4 separate regions of the Homo sapiens genome follow, and regions 2, 3 and 4 are each linked to region 1. The links are contacts of gene promoters, found by promoter capture Hi-C in human tissues and cell types (Jung and others, 2019). All regions are on one chromosome and are shown on one strand. The core of a region is centred on a gene start or on the middle of the fragment in contact, and the rest is flanking DNA. Distances in the headings are between cores, read along the strand shown. Region 1 holds the start of TLE1 (TLE family member 1, transcriptional corepressor). Region 2 overlaps LOC105376107 (a long non-coding RNA gene). Region 3 overlaps LOC105376107 (a long non-coding RNA gene). Region 4 has its middle 510 kb from the start of TLE1.

Region 1 (2,519 bases), core at 12-2,511:
CCGGTCAATTTCCAACTTTAATCCCGCCGAGGAAAATTAAGCCGGAAAGCCAAGCAGAAGCGGGGAGCGCGCTGGCCACGCACGCGCGCTCCGCCGGGCGCACCGGCCACTCGGCGCCCGCAGCTGCTCCGGCTCCCGCTCCCGTCGGTGCGGGCTCCGGCCCTCAGGGCCACATTAGTGGGCGCCCCAGGCCCAGCTGCTTCAAGAACCTGCGCGGAGACGTCGGGCGCTCGGGGACTGTGCGCGGGGGCAGCGCTCCAACCCCCGGCCTCAGCTGCCCGGGCGGGGAGGCGGGGGCGCGGTGACTCCGACCGCACTCCCCTCGGCGATCCGCGTGCGCGGCGCCAGTCCTGGGCAAACAAATCCAGACGGACTGCTTTTCTTTGCTCTTCTCCTGGTCCGCCTCCTCTTCGGGCTTTCCCCGAGGCGGCGGCGGGCGAGGTGCAGGTGGCGCGGCGGCCCCCGCTAACCCCACACAAACCCGACGCTTTCGGGGCGACTCCCGCAAGATTCGGCTGCGCCTTCGGCCGGGTGCTCGCAGGCTCCCGGGACGCAAAGGGGAGCGAGGTTGAAGACGCAGCGGAGGCTCCTGGCCGGGGAGCGACGGATGACGAGGCGGGGAAAGTGCGGAGGGCGCGCCGGGAGGCGGCTCGGCACGCCCCGTGCGACCAGCACTCGGTGTTCTCCGCGGTTGCACAAACCCTCCGGGCCCGACGGGGCTACTCCACCGAGAGCAGTCCCGCAAGTGCCCAATGCTCCTCGAGCCCGGGGAGCATCAGGGCGCCGCGCCTCGGGCGCACTCGCCCTGCACGGCCGGACCGGCCGCTCCGGACCCTTCTTCCGAGCTCCTTCTTCCTCGGTCTTCTTTCTTTCCTTCCTTCACCTTCGTGTGCTTCTCCGCAAAGGGCGCTCCAGCCCACTGCAAAGTTCTCTCACCACCCGAGGGACGACATCCACGAGATGGTGGGGAAAACAGCAGGAGTGCGCTCCGCCAATCGGCCACCCTCCCCGGCGGGCAAACTCTGCGGGCGAGTCCAGAGTAGTCACAGCGGTGGGGCCAGCGGGGGTTTTGGTCGCCGCGGGACGACGGAGGTCCGGGCTGGTGGCGCGGGTCCCGCCCGGCCGTGCGAGGGTGGGGTGGCGCAGTCGGCTGCCTCCGGGACGCGGGGCACAGAGTACCCGCCGCTGTTTCTGCTGCTGCTGCTTCTGCAGCCGCCGCTCCCACCGCCGCCGCCGCCCGCGCCTCTCGCGCCGCTTACATTAACACGCGGTTTCACACTCCGGAGCTAACCAGCGCCGGCCCCGCCCAGCCCCGTTCGGGCGGGGGGCGCGAGCGCGGAGCCGGCGGGGGACGTGAGCCCGGGAGGTTGGGGGGTGGGGGGGGGGCAGAAGGCCCGCATCAGCCAATCGCGTGCGCTGCAACCAACGTGGGGCGCTGACGCGCTCCTCCCCGGAGCGTATGGCAGCGCAGCGCCGGACGGGGCGTTCTCCCTCCCCCCCTCCTCTCGCTTCCATCTCCGCCGTCTCCTCGGTCTCCCTTCCCATCCCGGCCCCTCCTCCGCCAGCCGCGTCCTCCCGGGCTTGGTGAGGAACTGTTCCTGGAGGAGCCGCGGGACGCCAAAACCAGCCAATGGGAAGCGGCGATTCGCGGAGATTGGCACTGATGATGGGAAGGTCGGTGGGAAGGAGAGCGGCGGGGCTGGGCTGTCAATCAAAGTAACGTGGGGCTGGCTAGAGAGCGCGCGGGCGCGCGCTAGCGGGAGGGACTGGCGAGCGTGCAGCCGGGGAAGCTGAGGGCTCGAGTTAGCAAAAATCCTGCCACTTGCTCACTTTTCCCTTTAATGAAAATCCTCAGATCTAAGTGAAAGTAACTCAAAGACTAGCTGCGGAGTTTCTTATTGGAGGCGGAGGGGGGCTTTTGGTAATTCGAGCAAATGTGTTTTTCAGTGCTGGACCCCTTGTTTGATGCTACTCTAAAAGTGAGGCCACATTCAAAAATTTATCTGAGGTTTGTTTTTCCTTGAGCTGCCTTTTTACGGATGTACGAGAGGGAGTGGACTGTGCACTTAGTTGGAAATGCGTAAATGAGCAACGCCACGGTTGGCGTAGGTACACCAGCAAAGACGACTGTGATGTCCTCCCACCCCACCCACCCCCTTTGCACCCAAAGTGGTAGGATTTGATTTTTATTGCAGGATTTCAAGCCACTTTTCAAAAAGATCGTCCTGTCCCGTTTGGCGGGAAGGATTCCCAGGGTGCTGCCAGAACAAGGCACGCGTGTCCGCAGATGAGACGTTTTGCCCGGGGCGCGAAATCCCAGGTCTTCGTCTTAAAAGTCCTGACTTCGCTGTGTTGGGAGAGGTGGGGAGCGGCTGAGGTTTTTAGGAACTTCTCAGCTACAAGACTACGAGTCTGTTTCCAATTCCTGGGAACAAAGAGAGACAATGTAATAAACCAGCACTGAGACCTGAAAAACCTGTCCCGCACACCCCACCCCCACAGTCTGGGTGGTACTCCTG
Region 2 (2,519 bases), core at 7-2,506, 610 kb after region 1:
ACTTGAAAGGTTTGGAAGCCAGTGGTTTAGTTTTGAGCACATGATGAAGACATTATAAATACTTTACAATGCTACAAAACAACATGCATTCACTTTCTCAAGTGCAGAAGCATTTGTGAAATTCAGCAAAAAACAACTGAAAATTTTTGTGGCAAAAACCTTAAGCCTTTAATTTCTAACTTTTGCTAACCAATTCCTTTGTACTCCAAAGGGTATCAGTAATTTATATTTTGATTTACATATTGTATTCGTCTGTTCAGGCACTGCTATAAAGAAATACTTGAGACTGGGTAATTTATAAATAAAAGAAGTTTTATTGGCTGACAGTTCCTCAGGCTGTACAGGAAGCATGATGCTGACATCTGCTCAGCTTTTGAGGAGCCCTCAGGAAACTTACAATCAGGGCAGAAGGCAAAAGGAAAGCCAGCACTTCACATGACTGGAATGACTGGAGCAGGAGAAAGAGAGAGAGTGGCGAGGTGTCATACTCTTTTAAACAACCAGATCTCTGGATATCTCACTCACTCACTGTCATGAGAACAACACTGAGGGGATGGTGCTAAACCATTCATGAATAATCATCCCCATGATCCAATCACCTCCCACCAGGCCCCACCTCCAACACTGGGGATTACAATTCAACATGAGATTCAGTGAGGACATACATCCAAACCATATCACCTATTATTTGAAATGATTTTAAGTTAACTATTAAAGTTTTCTTTGATGGCTTTAAAAACCAAGTTATACCAACTTTACCACACTTAGGAATTGTGACTTTGAAAGAAATCTGGACATAAGCTCATCTTTTTTGGAGGGTACTGGCACATGTTATATATGAAGGTAGGTACTCATCCCAAACACTGAGATTTCATTATGAAATGGGGCAAGAATAGTTTTATGGAGAATAAGTAAATTCCTAGTGTGAGTGCAAGTTGTCATCTTGATGCCACTGTGATCCTCAGCAAAAGTGATTTATTGTATTGGATTATATTATCCACCTATTTTTTCACATGCTTCTTTTACTATGATATTATGCAGGCAACTATGACCACTGTCGAATGCTCTCTCAGCCACATCTTTTATACTGTGCCAATTAAGCAGAAGGTGGGGAATGTTGTCAGAGGGACTTAAATGTCTCATCTAAAGGTCAGCACCTAATGACAAGACAGCATTTATCCTGAACTGGACTGTAGAGTCAGCACTGGGTTTGAGCCCAGTTGCTGTTGTGGGACTTCAATATACAGTCCTCCAAATGAGAACAGGTGGTGTCAAAGGAACTATACTGGTGTTCAAGATATATCCTAAAATAGATTTAAGCCTCTCCATGACCTCATTTTGCCGCTCGGGCTTGCTTACGAGTGTGTTTTTGGGTGGTGTTAATGTTCCAGTGTTAGCCATTATAATTTATGGACTGACATAGGATCGTTAGCACTGAGCATGGATTGTGCTCAGTAGCCAAGGCATAACTTTTTCCCCTCTGTGTTTCCTACAGCTGGTCAGTGTTTTGTAACCAGGGCACCAACTCTGCAGCCAGTTCGTAACTTTAGATGTTTGATTGGGTGTGTAGTTGGCATCACAGACACGGTTAACCAAGGATAATATTAGAGTATGAGTGACAGTTTCAATATTTTATTCCTGTTAGAACTAGCTTTAGCACAAGTTGAAACCAGGTAACTGAACCTATAGTAAGATTTTATTTAATAAAATCATTTCATGCAAGGTAACAGTAACTGTGACTGTTTAGCCTTGGAGCAGGTGAAGGAGTTAACGATTTTGTCAATTAAAGTTTCATCAAAGTAAGCCATAGATGTTCTATTTCTGGAAAGAGTAATAATGTTACAAGGTTTACAATGAAAACCAGCAGACCTTTGACCTCTTTTTCCCTACTGTCAGTCCTGCTTTCAAGAACCACCACTTTTCATTCTGTCAATGCTTCTGGTATTTGCCACCATTTTTCTATATAACACAGTTATACTTGCGGTTCTTGATTCTTCAGTTTTAGATATTACATATTGAGTTTTTATTTTTATTATGACAGATATGAAAGATAAAGGTTTAACTCTTTTAAACTCCATTTGCCTCCAACATACATTATTCCCCTTCTCCCATCCTCTTTTTCACAATGTTTGGTGAAATCAGTATTTTGTTTCTCATTGTTACTAAATAAATTGGTTCTCAATGGGTGCAGGAATAGTCATTCTTAATGATTGTTCATTAAGACATTATAATAATTAGGTTAAGGGATTTGATGCTGTCAGGGTGATTCCCTGATAACACTGTAGACATAGACAGGGAACAGATACACAGAACAGAGAGAAACAAGCTGCTTCCTGGGCTTGATTGGAACACAGCAATGAAGACATTTGCCCATAACTGTGCTAGGGGTGAAGCAAGTGAGAAAGGGGTATGGGTTAATTAGGAGGGACACTGTGGAGGAGATTGCAAACGTCTTTGCAAGGATTTTTGAAAATGTATGGGGGCATTTTTTGGAGTTCACAATGGTTTGGGGCACAAGT
Region 3 (2,519 bases), core at 7-2,506, 580 kb after region 1:
TCATATTCACTTCTTTTATAGGGATATATGTTTCTAATATTCTTTATATCATCAAGAAATATTTAAAATAGTAATTTATATACTTTACATATTTTAGTGCCTTTGCTTGTTAGAAATCCAAAAATTTTCCACCAGTCAGTTTTACAGATATTTATGCTTAGCATATTATATTCAAAGACTTAGTTTGTGTCATTTCCCCATAAAATATCTGTAGTTGTAAGTCCTGTGACATTATAACCCTAACATGCCAAACTGAACTTGTTCCACTTGTTAAATATATCAGGTAGTGGAATCATATTGTGTTTGGAATATGCTTAGTTAATGAGGTTTATTTTATAAACAAACATACATCTGCATTTTCATTAGAAATAATCATATAATACATGTGCTTATTTTGATTAACATACCTAGTTAGGTTCCCTACGAAATGTGAATTACACTATTCTAGGCCATTAGAATCACAGATAATTCCCAAACTAGAAAATATAAAGAGAACACTTATTTGTGTGGCTTGTCCAGCTCTATTTGAATATCCTGGCATACAGCATCAGGGCTCATCTACACAATACATAGTTGAATATATTTTAGTAACCTTTTTTTTTTTTTTTTTTTGAGACAAGGACTTGCTCTGTCACCCAAGCTGGAGTGCAGTGGCGCAATCTCCTCTCACTGCAACTTCTTCCTCCTGGGTTCAAGCGATTCTCCTGCCTCAGCCTCCTGAGTCGCTGGGATTACAGGCACATGCCACCATGCCCAGCTAATTTTTGTATTTTTAGTAGAGATGGGATTTCACCATGTTGGTCAGGCTGGCCTCAAACTCCTGACCTCGTGATCTGTCCACCTCAGCCTCCCAAAGTGCTGGGATTACAGGCGTGAGCCACCGCACCCGGCTTTTAGTAACCATTTTATTTCTTTCTTTTTTTTTTTTTTTGAGACGGAGTCTTGCTCTGTCACCCAGGCAGGCTGGAGTGCAGTGGCTCAATCTCAGCTCACTGCAAACTCCGCCTCCTGGGTTCATGCCATTCTCCTGCCTCAGCCTCCCCGGTAGCTGGGACTACAGGCACCCGCCACCATGCCCGGCTAATTTTTTATTTTTATTAGAGACGGGGTTTCACCATGTTAGCCAGGATGGTCTCGATCTCCTGACCTCGTGATCCACCCGCCTTGGTCTCCCAAAGTGCTAGGATTACAGATGTGAGCCACCGTGCCCGGCCTTTAGTAACCATTTTAATACAAGCTTTAGCTCCTGTGTGTCACATCATTTTTCAGACTGATGCTATATTAAAAATGGGACTAAATGCTTAAAATTTTTTTCTATTTTGTCTGTGTACAGTGTTTTTACAAAGTAACACATCTATCTTTTCTTCCATGAAGTTATATAAAAATGAGCAAGGAAAGCTCTGCAATACCTTTTATCTCTGGCCAATTGATTTGTAAAGAAATGCACTAATGGGGGACTTTAAATTACTTCTTCATGTACCTTCTTTTTTATCTGAATTTTATTTTTCACATAAGGATACAAATTTTATTATTCTGCTCCATGCCGTCATAACATGCTTTGGAATGCCAACAGAGCAGGCTTTAGTAAACTCCACCTTGACCACCTCAGTGTTACAGTATGCTTCTCTATGTGTATTTATTATTCTATTTTTTTTTTTTTTACTTTGGATGATTCTTTAAGTGCATTTTCATTGTCAGATTTTAATTTTGTTTGTGTGTCTGCAAAGGCACATCCTCAAAGCTTGGCCTCCACAGGAAGCATTTTAAGATTCTCTTCCTTATAAGAAATTACAAATGAAATTAAAAATCAAGATTTCTTGAGTTCTCTCCTTCATTAAAAAAATTATTAATTATTTTAGAGATAGGATCTTGCTCTATTGCCCAAGCTCGAGTGCAATGGTGTGATCACAACTTACTGCAGGCTCAAACTACCAGGCTCAAGAGATTCTCCTGCTTCAGTCTCCCAAGTTGCTAGGATTACAGTAGCCTGCCCAGCTAATTTTTTTTTTTTTTATTAGTAGAAACAGGCTCTCCCTATGTTGCCCAGACTAGTCTTGAACTCCTGGCCTCAAGCAGTCCTAACACCTTGGCCTCCCAAAGCACTGAGATTACAGGTATGAGCCACTGAGCCCGGCCCCACTTTCACTTTTATTATTCAGAGATTGTGTTTGTTTCCTGGGACCAGATATAGAAGATTTTGCCCCAGGCTTGTCATCTATGAAATAAAATTAGTGCTGCTCTCTCAAATCAAACATGGAGAGGATAAAATAAATGCCTTACAGTGCCCTTTGAAGACACAAAGGAACCAAATCTAATATTTAATTATGATGTTTGTAAACTAGAAGGACAGAGATGGCTAGGTTGTTGGGAGAATTAGCAAAAATTATTTAGTACCAATTAAAGTAACAGAGCTCTGAAATAAAATTTATGTATTTGTAATGTATATTCAGCAAATATTTATTATTTATGTCATGCACTGTCTAGGCTCTAAAATACAATTGATAACAAGATAATCACCC
Region 4 (2,519 bases), core at 12-2,511, 510 kb before region 1:
CTCAATGTCTTGGTTGGCTGTTCTTCAATTTGAATTTATGCCATCAGAAATACCTTGTAAGTATTTCCAAGTTTACTATAGTAAAGAAATAAAGAGATGGAAGATACACACTGGCTCTTGCCTCCTCTGTCTCAAAGTGGCACCCATTATTTCTGCTTCCAGTATCTTGGACAAAACAGTAGTAGGGATCAGCCTAACTGGTAAATGTAGAGAACATTTACTGTGCCTCAGATGCCACAGTATTTAACTGGCTGGGTGCCTGAATATCTGAGTGTAGCATCAATATTCATATAATGATTGTGAGAATTATATAAAATAACTCAGTAAGAACCTAGCCCTGGGTCTGGCATAAACTTTATATTTAATAATTTTTAGTTTCTTTTTTCTACCACCAATCTCAAAGAAGAAATTTGCCAACCTGACAGAATCAATGTCAGCCATTAATGTGTTCCTAGATACTATAGCCAAAGCATCCTCACATCTTGCTCAGTGTGCCAGAAAGAGTTAGGTCAAAATGAAGGCTACATTCCTGGGACAACTTGCAACCATCTTTTCATATCTCCACTATCACAATTTATCATGACATTCACCTGCTCTAGGTCCTTCTGTGACTCCCTAAGCTTAAAGGAAAAAGTTGAAATTCCTTAATGGGTAACACACAAGACCCTTTTAGAGTTTGTCCTTCACCTCCCTCACTTGCCTCATACATAACACTTGCCTCGCTCACACTCACCCTCCACTCCAGCCCTGACAAATGCCTTCAATGTTCCTGGGCAACTCAGTTTTATGCCATGCCTACCTGCATTAGCAGGTGCCAAGGGATTTTCTTGGAATGTCTTTCATTCACTTTTCACCTATATATTTGTGCTTTAACATCTCTTCAAAAATGCCTTTACTGGCTTTGCCAGTATGACTTAAAGTTGTGTGTCTGTGCCTCACAGCATAGATATAGATTAATCACTACTGAATACTAAGTATGTGCCAGCCCCTGGGCTACCATGTGCATACCTGTATTGCAAATTACTGAATATCAAACATTGACCCAAGGGTCTGTCTCTTCCTCTCAACTGGAAACTCACAGAAGGCGGGAGCTATGTTATATTTGATGCTAGATCTTCAGAGCCTAGAAAGGTGCTTGGCACATTGTGGAAAGACACAAAAATTCATCATATTAGTAAATGCCAACCTCATCATTGCATTGTGTTTTATATATCCAACCACGCCTCTCCCTTTGCCCTGGTTCTGGATTTCCCAGCAAACTACTAATCTAAGTATGCTGCCTCCCTGCCTACTGTCAGCTTCAAATGCCATGGACCACTTCTAACTCCAGCTAGGCAAGGCCCCAATCTCTATTTAATGAATGAGTTTAAGAGGTGGACAATGCATTGTTTGAAACCAGAAAGATCTGAAACCAAACCCTAGATTCACCACTTAGTAATTGCACAAACTCAGGCAGGCTCTCTTAACCTTTAACACTTTAGTTTCTTCATAAGGAAATTAGGACAATTATTTCCATGCCGTGGGGGGGATATTATGAACATTAAAAAAGAATCCTAATTTTGTTGCCTGCCTGCATGCATATCTCTGAATGGAGAAAATTGTACTACAGAAACCTCTTTAAGAAGGGTAGAAATTTATTTTTTTGAAGGAAGGTTCTTAGAGAGCTGTTTGGAATAACAGATAAGACCCTGAAACAGGACTGAATATGTAGAGAACCACCCTGTAAGAGACAGAAAGAATTGTTTCTCAAGAGTAGCAGATGAGCAGGGTAAAAGGGAGGATATAAGAGGGAAAAAAGAGAGTCAGGAAATTGTGGAAGACCTCCCTATGACCCCTCAAATTTTTAATGAGGTCAAAATATATGGTGTATATATTTTGAAGAACTTAGTAGTATATTCTGTCATAGAATAAACAATCTATAAATTATAGATGCAATTATTAAAGTGTTGTCATTATTATTATCCCAGACTTAGTTATCAGTTAATCCCACAAGTTTGCACTCATTAGTCAATTGAAAGAGAGGAAATATTTGTAGGGCAAAAATAATCGAGCTCAGATTTTCTTCTCTCTAGATTTTGTCCCTGGCTTTGCTTTTCACTCCAGGATGGGTTCTTACTCCTATACTGATTTGCTTTGCTCATAGCTGTCCAAGGTGTTTCCTTGACTGGGTCTCTTTTTATCAATTTTATTGAAGTCCAATTTATGTACAAGAAATAGTATTCATTTAAAATATGCAATTTGATGAATTTTAACAAATATATACACCTATAAAACCACAATCAATTACAGAGCATTTTCATCACCCTCAAAAGCTTTCTGGCATCCCTTTGCAGTCCATCCTTCCCTCTCCTCTTACCGCAGGCAAATGCCAATCTGACTTTTATCATAGGAAAGTCTTAATTTGGTAGAATTTTCTATTAATAGAATCAAATGTTGTATGGCCATTTGGGTTGTTTTGGATATGATGAATAATACTGCTATGAACATTCACATACAGGTTTTTGAATGGACCTTTATGC

What was found. Contacts are between HindIII fragments. The study calls those that stand out against the background at their distance.
Region 2: a contact is called between a fragment that was not itself captured here and the fragment with the promoter of TLE1 in region 1, in 1 of the 25 tissues and cell types used here (mesenchymal stem cells).
Region 3: a fragment that was not itself captured here is called in contact with the fragment with the promoter of TLE1 in region 1 in 2 of the 25 tissues and cell types used here (lymphoblastoid cells and mesenchymal stem cells).
Region 4: a contact is called between a fragment that was not itself captured here and the fragment with the promoter of TLE1 in region 1, in 2 of the 25 tissues and cell types used here (mesenchymal stem cells and mesendoderm cells).

What each region holds. Positions count from the first base shown.
Region 1 is chr9:81,688,286-81,690,804 of GRCh38, forward strand. TLE1 (TLE family member 1, transcriptional corepressor) reads right to left here and starts at 1,262. Exons shown (of 20, transcript NM_005077.5): 1 at 1-1,262. TLE1-DT (TLE1 divergent transcript) reads left to right here and starts at 1,428. Exons shown (of 4, transcript NR_109772.1): 1 at 1,428-1,674. RefSeq lists an enhancer at 573-1,287 and silencers at 1,160-1,509, 1,660-1,809. The HindIII fragment of the contact is 9,578 bases long and covers 1-2,519 here.
Region 2 is chr9:82,294,013-82,296,531 of GRCh38, forward strand. All of the region lies in intron 4 of LOC105376107 (a long non-coding RNA gene), which reads left to right. Among named protein-coding and RNA genes, the nearest start is that of SPATA31D1, 310 kb to the left of the region's middle. The HindIII fragment of the contact is 5,658 bases long and covers 1-2,519 here.
Region 3 is chr9:82,267,173-82,269,691 of GRCh38, forward strand. The region is part of intron 1 of LOC105376107 (a long non-coding RNA gene); the gene reads left to right. Among named protein-coding and RNA genes, the nearest start is that of SPATA31D1, 280 kb to the left of the region's middle. The HindIII fragment of the contact is 5,414 bases long and covers 1-2,519 here.
Region 4 is chr9:81,176,177-81,178,695 of GRCh38, forward strand. No RefSeq gene overlaps it. Among named protein-coding and RNA genes, the nearest start is that of TLE1, 510 kb to the right of the region's middle. The HindIII fragment of the contact is 4,846 bases long and covers 1-2,519 here.